3 separate regions of the Homo sapiens genome follow, and regions 2 and 3 are each linked to region 1. Evidence: promoter capture Hi-C in 16 types of primary human blood cells and fetal thymus (Javierre and others, 2016). All regions are on one chromosome and are shown on one strand. Each heading gives the region's core, a stretch centred on a gene start or on the middle of the fragment in contact. The rest is flanking DNA. Distances are from core to core; before and after follow the strand shown.

The links. The method cuts DNA at HindIII sites, captures the fragments that hold promoters and counts their contacts. A CHiCAGO score of 5 or more calls a contact.
Region 2: a fragment that was not itself captured here is called in contact with the fragment with the promoter of EN2 in region 1 in 1 of 17 cell types (neutrophils); the score reaches 9.0 in neutrophils.
Region 3: a contact is called between a fragment that was not itself captured here and the fragment with the promoter of EN2 in region 1, in 1 of 17 cell types (neutrophils). The highest score is 5.6, in neutrophils.

The regions. Positions count from the first base shown.
Region 1 is chr7:155,455,418-155,460,161 of GRCh38, reverse strand. EN2 (engrailed homeobox 2) reads right to left here and starts at 2,033. Exons shown (of 2, transcript NM_001427.4): 1 at 1,100-2,033. The coding sequence starts at 1,784. It overlaps EN2-DT (EN2 divergent transcript), which reads left to right and starts at 3,044. Exons shown (of 3, transcript NR_186580.1): 1 at 3,044-3,172. RefSeq lists an enhancer at 2,380-3,371. The HindIII fragment of the contact is 14,368 bases long and covers 1-4,744 here.
Region 2 is chr7:155,778,808-155,783,551 of GRCh38, reverse strand. It overlaps RBM33 (RNA binding motif protein 33), which reads right to left. Exons shown (of 18, transcript NM_053043.3): 18 at 2,072-4,744. Among named protein-coding and RNA genes, the nearest start is that of SHH, 31 kb to the left of the region's middle. RefSeq lists enhancers at 480-1,014, 1,015-1,550 and a silencer at 1,803-2,097. The HindIII fragment of the contact is 5,935 bases long and covers 1-4,744 here.
Region 3 is chr7:155,712,044-155,716,787 of GRCh38, reverse strand. The region is part of intron 8 of RBM33 (RNA binding motif protein 33); the gene reads right to left. Among named protein-coding and RNA genes, the nearest start is that of RBM33, 70 kb to the right of the region's middle. The HindIII fragment of the contact is 3,679 bases long and covers 691-4,369 here.

The DNA of each region.
Region 1 (4,744 bases), core at 784-3,283:
GATCTAGCTGAGAAATCTGAATTTCATCAGAAATATGCACGCATAGTTCTGCGGGATGGCGGCCCAAGGGTTGGCTCACTCCTGCTGTGATCTGGGCAAATGACCCCCGCAAAATAGTTGAGGGTTTGGGGGCAGCGGGGATCCGCTGCCAGCTCGGGGTCAAACAGTCCACTTCTAATGGCGGTTCCCAGCCGCAGACCCGCATGGAATGCAGTTGATGATTTCTACAAGGACATGGACTTAGTTTTTTAAAATCGCAGATCTATGAAAAAATATATCCAGCATCTCTGCAGGGCCCCTGCGAATGCTGCCTCTTTCCCATCAGCAGCCCCCAGGAAACCCTGAGAGAAGGTCCTTTCTATTTGGGGATGGCAGGTGCCGGGAGGGACGGCTGCCTCCCTTGTCCTCGCTGTGTGCAGGAAGGGGGCTGAGCCCCACCACTGCGGGCTGGCGCTGGCAAACAAAGTGGAGCCAAGGGGAAAGGGCGCCTTTATTTTCCTCCTTCCCTGTGTGCATCCTCCTGAGTCCCACCGGTCAGCGCAGGCCCGAGGGGCAGAAGGCAGAGCGGCAAAGGGCCTCGCCTTTTCTTCCCCGAGCACAGCCGGGATAACCGGATGGTAGGACAAGTCTGGGGTGGGCTGGGGCATGCGTCCCCGGCCTGGCCTGAGTTGGAAGATCGTAGGGAAGGGGATGAGAGTGTGCACTTCCGGGCCCATCTTCCAGCCACCACGTTCCCACCAAAAAAAACTACAGTGGGGGAGACATGGGCTAGGGGCTGGGAAGAGATGCGCCAAGGCGGGGTGGAAGACAGAGAGGGGAGACAGGGAGAGAGGAAGGAGAGAGAGAGACAGAGAAAGAAAGAAGGTCCCTTCTGCGGTCCTAAGAAGTCTGTACCCCCTAGCGAATCAGTCCTGCCGCTGGACTCCTGGCCGCTGCCCGGGCCGGCGTCAGCTTCACACAATGTCGCGTGAGTCTTTGTGCGTGTGCGCGGGGGAGGTTCGAGATGTTTTCCTCCCGGTAAGTTCCCGCGCCAGCACCGCCCCCCAGCTCCGCGGGCCTCCCCGCGGCGAGCCGGGACGCGTGGTCCCCGCGGGCTCACCTGAAGAAGGCCGGTCCGAGTAGCGCGTACAGTAGACCCACGCCGGCCAGAGCATGGGCTGCGCGCCCAGGTTGGCGCCGGCTTGCGAGCTGTCCGAGTCCGAGCTCACCGACAGGTCGCCGCCGCCCAAGCCGCGGGCCTTGAGCGACCCGTCCAGGGGGCCGCCGGGGTCGCCGCCTTTCTTGGCGCCACCGTGCAGCGAGAGCGTCTTGGAGCCGCCTTCCCCGTCACCCGGAGAGTCGCTGCCGGCGGCTGGGAGCGGCCCGCCCGCGCCGGGCGCACATGGCGGGTTCTGCCGGGGCTCTCGGGAGCCCGAGCCCAAGAGCTGCTCCGAGCCGCCCGCGCCGCCGCCTCCCTCCGCACCGCTCGCGCCGCCTTCGCCGCCGGCTCCGCCGCCCCTTCCTCCTCCCGCGCCCGCACAGCAGGTCCCCGCGTCCTTTCGCCGGCCGAACTCGGGCCGCAGGATGTTGTCGATGAAGAAGTTGGTGATGCGGTGCGGGTGCTGGTGGTTGCCGGGCGCCTGCAGGACCGCGGGCAGCATCAGAGCCCGCCGGCGCCCGGTGTCCGCTTCGCCCGGGCTGCTACCGCCGCCGCCGCCCGAGCCGCCGCCGGGGCTGGATTCCGGCTGCCGCTGTCCCTCCACCGCCGCCGCTGCTTCGCCAGGCTTGGGGTCATTCTCCTCCATGCTGTTCACAGTAAATCCCACACTGGTTCTCCGGGGACGCCCTTCCAAATCAGCCTTCGGCCCTCCCGCGGCGCACACGGAGACCCCCGCGCCCCCACCCCGCCGAGTCTTCCGAGGGCGTGCGCGGCGGCCGCGGCCAGGGCTGAGGTCCTACAAGTCGCCGGCCGCGCTCGGCGCGGAGCCACCTTTGAATCCACGAACTGGGTTAGAAACACCACGAGCCGCCCCGCTCGCCCAGACGATGAGAGATTCAACAGAGCCAAGTCCTCGACTTCGCCGCGCAGCCGGGGTCTAGACAGTCGCAGTGGTCCGGCGGGGACGCGGGCCGCCTCCCGGGCTCCCCGCTCCTCTCCGCGTCCGGCCGCCTCGGGCTCCGGCGCCGCCGCCTGGGCCGCCCGGGGCGAGAGCTGCGCGCATGCAGGCAGCGCGTTCCCCGGCGCTCACGCCCGCCCGGGCCGGCTCCGGCCGCCGCCGCCGCCCGGCCGTCCCCGCCCGCACGCCCTAGCCGGCCCTCGAGGGTGCCGGGCGCCCGCGGTCAGCGCGCCCGCCACCGCCCGCACGCACATGGAGGCCCCCTCCTCGCGGCCGCCGCCCCGCTGCGGGCCGGGGCGCCCCACCGGCGTGCGGCCGCGCCCCCGCCGAGCCCCGCAGAGCTCCGCGGCCCGAGTCGCATGGGTGAGAGACGCGAGGCCAGGGCCCGGCCGGGCCGGGCTGGGCCGCCCGCGCTCCCCGGCCGTCCGCCGCCCTCGCCGCCTCGGCCTCCGCGCGGGCTCGGAAATTTCCAGGCCACTCGGCGCAACCTGAGACACTTTCACTCTGGATTTTTGTTCTTATTTTTAACAGAGCCCCCTCGAGTGACGTCGCAGGCCGGTCTCCTGGACACGTGCCTCGGGCCAATGGCCGCGGCGCCGCGCGCCCACGTGACGCTCCGGCCGCCGCTGGGTGACAGGAGCAGCCCGCCGCCCCTCCTCCCCTTAAAGCGGCCGCGTCCCCCGCTCCGGGTGCGGGAGCCCAGGAACCCGGAGAGACCCCCGACCGCGTCTCCTGCGCTCGCCCGCGCTTTCCCTGTCGCTTCGCGGTTCAGGGGTGTGAGTCACCCGGCGACAGCCCCGCCAGGTCACCCCGGGGCGCGTAGGTGGACACGCACAGGAAGATCGCTATTTTTAAGATTTCCATATTGTTTACCGTGGGGCGAAATCCCACAATTCCTTGCACAAAATGCATAAATAATATTAAATGAGCTGCCGAGATACAAAGGGACTTTTGTGGTCCGCTTTCCTTGCTGATGGAGAGGAATAGTGTCACTCCCATTTGACTCGGTAACCCGGCAGCTTCCTGTCTTAAACGCAGAGCTGGCGCGCAGGACACTCCTCCTGCAGACACTTATTGTAAGTGTGCGTGTGTGTGCGTGTGCAGGGAGGCGCGTGCATACGGCCGCATTCCACCCGGGGACAGCGACCCTCATGAAACATGCTTAGCGATCCGAAAGAGCGGGGGAATGCAGTATGCGGCTCCATTTGCGAAGGGAGAAATCCAGGAGCCTCGGAGGTTCTAAAGGAATCCTTTTTGCCAAGGAGAGGAGGGGTGACTGTTCAGCTAAGACTTCAAAACCAAGTCGCCCGCCCCCCTCTAACTTCTCTACTCTGATTGAGGAGCTCCCAGACCGGTCATCTCGTTTTCTTTGTTTTAAAATCCTTTAAACTAATTTTGCCGGAGAGCAGGGCCCATTTGAAACGAGAATTAGGAATCCAACGGCAAGGGTGGGAGCCCCAGTTGGTTTCTCCCCTCCTCTCTCTTCATCTTTTCTAGACTTTCCTTCCAGCTGTTGTCAGAATGTCCAACTGGAAGTTCTGTTTCCTCTTCTCTTCCCCCTCCTCCCTCGGGCTCCTTCCCATTTGCTCTTGTCTACCCACCAAACACCCGTTGTTACCCCAGGCTCGCCTGTCCATCATTTAAAATGCATTTTTATGGAAATGTGTGAATTCCTGGAAACATCCGATAGGGCAGCTCTGGGGGTGCGGGAGCATTTGCACGCCATGAGTACCCTCAGTGCGGGGGAGGCGGGGAGGCCGCAGCCTGGCACGGACACCCTAGGGCTGATTGGCCCTGGGCAGCTGCACCGTGCTCAGCAACCCAGACCCCCGCAGAGGCAGCCAGCAGGTTGCTGCCAGGCCCTGAGTGAACTTGGGGAGTCTGGCAAGCATCTCCGAGGCAGCGTGGCCTGCCAGGCCACCTGGGGCCTGAAGGTTGCACCCTGGCCTTGCGAAGCTCCTTCCCCAGTGTCCATCCCACGTGCTGTCCTTCCCCTGCAGGCTTCAGAGTGCTGGCTGGGCTGGGATGAGAAACGACAGTTCCCACAGCTGCTCCCAGGAAAATTACCCCCCCACCCAGGACGGGAATGGTGGGGGAGGAGGTGCTGGGCTGGCCTCCTGGCCACTGGACGTGGCTCTGGTCAGAGTGTGCCCTCTGTCCGGTGTGTCTAGGGCAGGGTGGGGAAGCCTCTTCTCGCTGGGGCTGGATTCCTCCACTTTTTCTTCATTGGAGGAGTCCTTACCAAATGTTCTGGCTAGGCACACATCTGCCAGGGGTCCTCCCCGAGTCTCAAAAAATCAAACCCCACAGTCTACCTGCCCCCCGGGAAAATAGGGCTGGTGAGAGTTTGTGGGAAGTCTTATTGACGCTTACTTGGTTTTTTGGGGGGAGAATTTTCTGCAACTCTGGAAACTCTGATGATCACCAGTCAGGAAAGGGAGGGTCCAACGACTCTGGGTCTCCTGAACATGATATTGGGGGGAGGAGGGGCCCTGAGCTCTTTGGTTCCTGCAAAACCATCCCAGGTTAATGGCTCCACCTGTCCCATGAAAGCCAATTAGGCGGCTTCCTGAGAAGTATTTTCTGAATTCTTGGGACTCTTTGCCTCTGACTGCCTCAGTATAAATGGCCCCAAGACGCTGGGCTTC
Region 2 (4,744 bases), core at 1,068-3,567, 320 kb before region 1:
AGACCTCCAGCATGCCAGGCACTGCTCAGGGGGCAACTATGGGAAATAACAATACCTTCTTCAAAGGATCTACCACTCTTGAGTGTACCCTTAATTCAAAGAAAGCCCCATTTTCTCCCTGAAATGTCAAGGCGTTTTTTGCCCATGTTCTGTAGAGATCCCATTACCCAAAGTACAGGTTTTAAAAACAAGGAATGACTTATTCTTGAACTATGGATTAAAGAGGAAGAAAACTGCTTTGGGCTCTAATCACATGGCATTTTCAGATTATGACTTAGGCTTAAAAATTCAATTAAATCGGATTTGAGAAATTCACCCAACACATTTCGCTTTTGTTACCTGTTGCTTCCTCCTCCATTTCAATTTCCCAAATTTGCCTCTTCTCTTGCTTTCTTTCTTCCTTACTTAGGTCCAAACTAAGGCACTTTCCTTTTCATCCTTACGAGAACGGGGAAAACAGGGTGATAAAATGTATCTTTGAAAGCAGCCACCGTCTGCCCACTGCAGGCCACCCTGCTTGTGGAAGGCCCCCCGTTTGCGTTACGGAACCAGAGTGGAAACTGCAAGGTTTTATTAACATGGCTTCCAAATTACATACAATGTAGTTCAGTTTTTGGTATGAAATCACACAAATGAAACACACAACAGTACATTTTCTTGAAATGTACGTAGTTGAAACTACGTCACTAGAATTCACATGTGCATTACACAGAGGTGAAGAGCATGAAGAATGGCTGTGTGGCCCTCCCGCACCTGCCTGGATGGCCTGCTTCCGGCCCTGGGGAGGGACAGCCACCGTGAGGCAGTGAGCCTGTGAAACCCGCTCTCAGGGATGAACACAGCTGGAACCTTGCATGTGCGCTCTTCCCGCATACCTAACAGTGCTTCCACAGCCACTGTGCTCTCCCCCAGGGTCCTGCCGGGTGGCTCTGTCAAGCCCTGCACACCGGCCTGGACCAGGGGGATGACAGAAAGGGTGCCACCATGTCCCAATCTGCTTTGGCTTTCACAGCCGCTGACCCACAGGCTGTCCCACGAAGAATGGGAGAGGCCTGTCAAGGGAGCCACATGTCTTCCATCAAACTCAAGGGACCAAAGGAAATGGCAGTGACTGAGAACAGTGGTCCTGTTTCTATGTAAGAAAGGAGAGGGTGCTGACTGAGAACGGTGATCCCGTTTCTACATAAGAAAAGAGAGGGTGCTGCAGGTGGAGAGTGGGCTGGAGCTGGTCACCAGCGCCTCCCGAACCCCAGCACAGACACCAACACCAGCATCCGGGTGAGAGGGGAAGCCGGCCCATCACAGTACACAGGCAGGCTGGAGCTGGTCACCAGCGACCCCCGAACCCCAGCACAGACACCAACACCAGCATCCGGGTGAGAGGGGAAGCCGGCCCATCACAGGGCACAGCAGGGGGTGTGATGGGGGTTATCTTCTTGAATGTTTTGGACAGTAGTTTCTGGAAACAGAGCTGCCTTCTTTTTAAAGACTTCATTTTCAAAATAGACCATAAATTATGAGCAATTTCTAACAACATGAAAAACACGTGGGATACATGAAATGGAAAATATACATGATGGCATATGCACTGTGATCCCAACCTCCAGCGAGGCCTGCACACGGCAAGAACACGCCACCTTGGAAGAACGGCGTCACTGGAGACTGAGCTTCCCCACCTTCAGTCTCTTATTGCCATGCTGGAATACAAGTCTCTTCTGAAGAAAACTTGTAAAAATTATCTATAATGCTTTAAAAAATTAAAAAGACTAACTCCCCCACCCCCAACCAAAAGGAGCATACTTTGATGCCGTCTGCCTGGTCAGTTCGGAGTCATGCAGCGCCCAGAATGCAGGCAAGGAGGCGGCGGCTGCCCTTGACCTTCGTGGCCCACTAATGAGAGAGCTGCGTGAAAGCCGCGGGCTGCAACCCAGCGGCCAATCTGGGGAGCGTGAGGGCAGCCCCCGACCCCGGCCCCTTACAGAGGTGCGGAAGCACCGTCTCGGACACACAGGTAAGATGAGCTGTGGCCCGACCTGAGCGCCCAGACAAAATGAAGGCTACGGAACCAGAGTGGAAACTGCAGGGTTTTATTAACACGACTTCCAAATTACATACAATATAGTTCAAACACATTTTTTTGGTACGAAATCACACAAATGAAACACACAACAGTACATTTTCCTTTCAACTACGTCATTACCATTCTTCACACAGATCCTGAAAAAGTTACCACAGCAGTTAACGCGAAGTGAACAAAGGGGTGGAACAGGCAACGGCATTCCCCCAAGGTAGGTGTGGTGTGTCTGGGAGAAAACAGGATGGAGATCAAACCCAGAGAAACGCACTCCCGTCATCTCTCCATGTCTCAATTTCCAACGCTCTCCCAGTCAACACAGCTTCGCCCCCAACCAGAGCCACCCGGTGCAGCCCGCAGAGTGTACACGCATCAGGGCCGGGAGGCCCCGTCGGCAAAGCAGTAACACACGGTCAGACGGCCGCCACCTCCAAGTGGAGTGAGCCACGCTACCACTAACACTGAACTCAAGCACAAGAGCTCCTGCGAAAGCAGAGGGGCGGGAAACAAAGAAGCGGGTGGTTAAGGGCACGAACCGCACACTGCGGGACGCCGGCATCTTTGAATCGCCACTCACTCCTACAGAGCCAAACTGCAAAACAACAGAATTAAAAAGTTACTCTCTCCAATCAAAGACCTGGAGGAATAAATCGTGAGTGAAGACCTGTCGAAGCAAAGGTTGAGAGGTGATGGAGTGGTAAACACAGTGTGAAAATCGTCAGCACCTTCCCACCCAGCCCACGTGGAGTTCTCAAGGCTGAGGCGGAGCAGAGTGGCAGGAATACGGCCCTCACCCAGTTGAAGCCAGGAGGTGGAGGGAGAGGAGCATGGAAAGCCAGGGAGATGGGAAGGTCTGAGAGAGTGAGTCTTGGAATGGGACAGGAGCTACCAGTGTTAAGAATGGTAGATGGGTTTAGCCAGGAAAGCAAAACAGAAATGGACAGAGAGGGAGAGCCCAGAGCATGGCATGGTGAGGTGATCCCATTACTAAATGAACAGTAGCAAGAAGCAGGCACGTGGAGCAAACAGAATCAGCTCAGACATGAAAAAGGTCACACTCTGTGCTTTGCTGCTGTGGTACCTGAAAATTAAACAGTGGAATTAAAGCCCCAGAGTTCAAGTCCTCACAGAGGACACCATCCTGGATCCCACGCCTGTGAAAAGCAAAGCTGGATTATAGAAACGAGCGGTGGCTTTTTTTGCTCCTTCGGCTCAGGGCACCCCTGTGTGCTGTGCGCGCGTTATTGAAAATGTTACCCACCTAAGAAAAGACTACAGAACGCATACAGCTAGAACGCATACAGCTTACACAGTCCTTGCAAAACCAGCTTCCGCCACGGGTGCCCTTAAAATGAAAAGCAGTTTAAAAGAAAATCATGCTAAAAGAATGCATGAGGTCTACTTTCTAGAGTATATTAAATTATTAAATACAGAATACATTACAATAGTACCTGTCTGCCTATCCACTCTATGGAACATATTAAAATAAAAAACTACATGCTGTTTCTTTTTAAAGGCCTACATTTTTCTATATACCTTTTAAAATCAGTAAAATAAAACCAAGCAAAATATCAACATGAAGACCTCCTTCTCTTTTAGTTGGTTAGAAGTCAAAGGAAAAAGCAAGTACTCAGAAGTGTCTCACTAAAATACCTGTTCCGTCCGCCAATCTTAAAGATTTCCTACCAAAACATGACACAGAAAAGAGAGAGTTGAGACATTAAAAGCATTTTCTAGCCAAGGCAGGTTACAATGTGTGAGGCAAACGGCCTTTTCCAGCCATATGCTACCAGCAGAAGGTATACCTGGGGATCCAATATGAATCAGTGAGTTCCGCTTTAGTTCCAGTACACAAACCACGGGCTTATGCACCTCAGAAGTTAGGCATTTAAAAAAAATTAAATAGGTTGCAAAAAAACCTTACATAAAATCCTTAGGATTTAATATTAAGTCAAGGCTAAATGCCTTTGGAGAATTCATATTTAAGAATGTCCAAAATAACACTCCATTCACAAACTTTAAAAATAGCTGAAAAAGTTAACTGAAATGCTCTTTAAATACACTAAAGTATCTAAGCCTCTCCCTAGTCGATCTGGACTAGCGGCTTTCCGAGTGGTGGTAGTCGGGTGCCTCCGAACCTTTCCTGCCCTGCACACACTCCTATCAGTCAACTCCCTGGTAGAATCGTCACCTCTAATTTTTTGAAAAACCAATAATACCTTTCGAGCTTTCTCTCGCCCACCCCCCTCCCTCCCACTCCAAATTAAAAAAAAAAAAAATGGGGTGGAGGATCATAGCTTAATGAAGGGAAGCCAACCTGGGTCTAAAAGCGATTACGTCAAGCCATAGCTGAGGCCTACAAGTAGGGAGGGAGGGTAATAAAAAAACGAATCCCAGGAAGAGCACCACGAAAGCGGGAAGCCTGAAGTCACCCACAAAGGGCACTGCAGACACCGCACCAGGAATGTTTCTTAAGAGCTGGCAGTCCTCTCCAGGGAGAGAGCAGAGGAGGGGAACAGCCGCAGGGACTAGAGAGTTTCTAGGACTCCACGATGTGCCGGCACAGCATGCTGCCATCACACACGCTGACCTCCTTGTCCTGTGCAATTACATGACTAGGACCTGCCTTCGACAAGCGTCTGATGGTCTATGAGCACATTCCGCTTACCT
Region 3 (4,744 bases), core at 1,281-3,780, 260 kb before region 1:
AAAATAGAATCCAACTCTCCCCTCAATTCTACACAGCTGATGTTACATCAATTCCATATCTAAAGTGAAACACTAGACTGGAGAAAGTGGAGAAAGAAAAAAACAAGAATATCTCTGACCTCAGAAGATTATAATGAAGGTGACAAAGAAAAACACTACATATTAAATGTAAAGACGTGATTTTTATAATCAAGTTAACAAATATAAGACACCCAGATCTTCACTAACTCGATCATAGGTACCACTTAGAAACTTGGAATTTAAATGCCAATATCTACCAAAACATTCCAACACGATAAAAGGATAAAACATTAAGCCTCTTTAACCAGGAGAATGAGAGCAAGAAGGTGAGGTGGGATTTCTAGAAAGCAATCTGATTATAATAAATGGATTTCTTACACAGAAGCCTCTGATGAGCTGGTAATTTGCACAAAGTACCAGCCTTTTCCCTATTTAAAAAAAAAAAAAAAACAGCAGAAAAGGAAAAACAGCTGACAAAAAGGGTTGCTGCGTGCGGACAGTCCAGTCCCCATGGGAACAGTGCAGACACCTGGCCCACCCAAGAGATGCCACCTCAGTGGGAATACCCAGGCATGTGTCTGCGGGCTCTCCCTGCCAGGCCCTGGCTGCCCGACTACTGCAGCGAAGAATTTAACAGGTGTGATGTTAGAGACCAGTCTAGCTGAAGCTTCAACTTGAATATTTGAAGTTTAATATTTATAACTTGTCCCATGTATTTAATGGACTGTTTTCAATTCATTATAATTATAATACTAAAAACCTGGAAACAAGTTAAATTTCCATCAAAATTGTTTTTAAATAAATTATAACGGAACACTCTTCATCCTCAGAAAGTCTGTGCCATCAGAAGAAGATGTATATATATTGCTAGCTTTTTTAAAAAGCACCTTTCATCTGTGTAAGGCTCTGAGAATCAAAGGTTTAATCTGTGTATCTTTTACCTACAGGAGACATCTTGATATTCAGTCTCTCTCAAGAGGAACTGTGCATTTCTATTTAAGCTCATTCATCTATTAGAGAATAAACAACTGCTTCGAAAGTGTTGCCTATCTACCTAGCAAGAACACTTTGTCCTTCTCTCCTGTGTCAGTGTACCTCTGAAGGTCAAAGGTAAATGACAGATAAGGGACATGCGGCACTAAAGCTCCTAGTTTCATGGTGAGAAAAAGCTAGCTGGTTCTGAGTTTAAAAACTTTTGTCAGAAAGCTGACCTTGGAGTAGTTGCTAAATCACACGTGCGCTTTGGGGTGCAAGGCCTGCATTCTACACTTGCCAGGCTGTTGACTTTTGCAGGGGACACCATTTTCATACATAGAGGATATCTTGGGGCTTCCTGACAGCTTTACCACCCTATATTTCTAAGACTATTTTAGTGAAGCTAAAGAAAATCTGTACGTATTACCAGCTGCCAGCTTTCCACGGCATTTTACAAGGAAATGCACAAGAATAACAGATGCTAGCATAAGCAAAATTATTCCAACAAATTAGACTGACAGCAGTTCCAAGTTCAGGACAACCACTATGGGGAAGATGCAAAGGATTACTTGAAAGAAAGCCACCCTTCCCCATTCAAGTATGCGTGTGTTCATGTCTCCATTCATTCAACGGCTACTGCAGGAGACGTAGGCACCACACCAATCAGCGACGCTCAGGGCCACCTAAGAGGATGTGTGGATGAGCGATGCTAACCAGGGTGGGAAAAACTTTGGGGGAACACAGGGACATGCGATGGGGTCAGGAGGGGTTAGGAGTTAATTGTACTTTAAAACCTTATGCTTCTCTGCCATGCCCAGTGGCCTGGTGGTGACCCGCAGACACTGTCAAGAGGCGCCCCCCTCCCTTACACTCTGGGCCAGCCCGTCACCATCACAGTCCCCTGCTCCATGGCCACAGGACAACTTCATAATACTTCTCACCCACGTATGGGAGGGTCCCAGGATCTAGGCCACTGGCCAATCCCCTGCACTTGAACTACTACCTTAGGCTACTCTCCACTTCTGAAACTTCTCTCCCACACCCTTAGGAATCCCAAATTCCCCACCCATCAGCAGCATCCACCACACCCTTGAGTTCCTTCACCTTCTCGCTCTAATGGCCCCTCTGAGTGGCAGCTGTTCTCCCACAGCTTCTTGCCAAAGGTCTGGAGGTAGAAGGGCTCCTTCTTGATCTAACTGCTGCTTCCAGACCCAGCTTTCATCTCATGCCACCAGCTGACATGCCCCAGCACCACACTGGCCCTCTCATTTCTCAGGGAGTTCAGCTCCAGTCTGAATAAACACAAAGACGGCCCTTGCCGTGCCCTGCCTCAGATCCGTGCCACCTCTGCCTCCAGTCCTGGTGACCATTCCACCCTTCCATCTCACTCCCTCTAGGATCCTGATTCAAACAATCGTTCAACTCTACAAAGATCTCCAATGATCTCCTTTTCACCATCTCAGCCTCCTCCCTGGTGTCTTCTCCTCCCTGGCATCTACCTTATGATCCACAGCCCATCGTTATCAGCACTGCCTTCCCTTTACTACTTTGTGAAAACTATGACCCTCATAAACCCAACTGCCTGCCTATTCCACACCTAGTGTGCGCAGATGAGCGCAGCTGGACAGAGACACACAACCATGCTGACTGCCCTCACCTCAAATCCACACCCCTCAAGGGCTCAGCAGCCCCATCCATCCCTGCGCACATCCACTCTTCGAAAGCACGAACGGATGCTCCAAAGCGCCTCTCCTCAGACCTTCAACACGCCCTCCTACCTCCCCACTCTAGCTCCCTGCTACCCACCGAGGAAACTGAGGCCACCAAGGAAGAACTGACACAAGACTCCTCCACCTGCCCATCCATCTGCCCCAGCTGTGGAGGACTCCCTGCTCCTCCCCCTCAGCAAGCCCACCTCTGGCACGTGGTCCTGGACAAGACAAGTTTTTCCTCTCATCTGCATCAATGATGTTTTTCCTTCTTAACTAGCTCTTTTCTGTAAGTGCAATGAATAAAAAACTTAGAATAAAAAACTTTCTCTCAAGCCCACTTGGCTCCCATCAATTATCATCCAACTTCTGTTTTAGCAAAACACAGTCAAAGTCTGTCAATACAGTGGCCTCAAGTCCGTGCCCCATCTCAGCCAGGCCTGTGCCTCCTCCTCACCAGCCCCGCCCCAAGTGCAGGCCACACCCACTGACCCATTGGCAGCAGCCCTGCCAGCCCGTGGCCACCTGCTTCCTTCCCCATCGACCGTCATCCTCCTTCCTCCCTCTCGGCTCCTTTGCCAGGCTCTCCTCCTGCCCCCATTCCCACGTCGAGTGCCGGGGTCCCAGTCCTTGGCCTCCCTGACGGGTTCTCCTCCTGCCCCTCCCCCTCCTGTGTCAAGTGCCCTAGGTCCCAGTCCTTGGTCTCCCCACACACAGACTCCCTCCTCCAGGGCTCTCATTTGAGGGCAGGGTCTAAATCCACCTATTCACCAACAACCTCCTGACCTGTACTTTGAGCCCAAACCCCTATACTGAATTCTCATCCAACTGCCTACTAGACCCCTCCACTCACATGGCTAGTTGGCATCTCAAATTTAATGCACCCAAAACAGAACTTTTGATCTCCCCACCTCAGGTGATGGCAACCAGACCAGCCCTCTAAATGCTCTGGTCACCTGGGCATCACTCTTACCTCCTCTCTCCCTCTCACACTCATCCAATCCATCAGCAAATCCCATCGGCCCCATCTTCCTACTTCATCCAGCTCTGAGCTCTCTGCACTCTCCCTGCTACCACACTGGTTTGCACCAGGATCATCTGTCACCTCCTAGCTAGACACCAGCTTCCACCCTTGCCACCCGACAGTCTCCTCTCAACACGGCAGCAAGAGGAATCTTCTAAAACATACACAAGGTCACGTCATTCCTCTGCTCAAACCCCTCTAATCCCTGCCCATTTCACTCCCTGCCAAAGTCCTGAGAATGGCTGGATGGCCCCACGGCCCCACGGTACCCAGGTTCTGCATTTCTTCTCTGCTTTGATCACTCCACAAAAGTCACGCTGGTCTCCTTTTGGCTACTCAAACACACAAGGCAGGGTCTCTCCTGGAGGAAGCCCCCTTATACTTGCTGATCACTCTGCCTGCAATCTTCTTCCCTGAACAGCCACATTGCTAACTTACAGATATCCCTCAACTCTTTCCTGCTCAGTGAAGTTCACCCTGATCACCCCATTTAAGATACAACCCATCCCTTCCCCGCATCCTGCTCAATTTCTCACTGCATTTTCATCTTCTAACATGCCACATAAAATACTTATGTTTACTGCTAATAAACAATAATAAGACTGTCTGATAGAAAGTAATATCATGGTTGAAGAAAGCTTTGTCTGGTTTGTTCGTCAATATAACTCAAATGCCAAAAATAGAGTAGTAGCTCAATAAATGTGTGTGTTCACAGGTACATGAAGTTAAAGCTTCGTATAAACTGCTCAAAAACCGTTTCCTAGCTTAAGGAACATGTTTCAGTAATAATCAGATCTGTATTTATTTGATTACAACAACTAAAAGATGGTGTGTCCCCTCTCCACCAGCTGACACTGGAATTGAAGGGGGGCATGCTGCCTGGAACCAAAGAGGGACACTCACCACTGCAAACATCCTCACCGGGAGACTTACAAAGTGTCACAGTTCAGGCATTCCAATAGCGGTCTCTAGTGTATTCTTTGCATTCAGACTGTACTCTCAGCACTTTCCACTC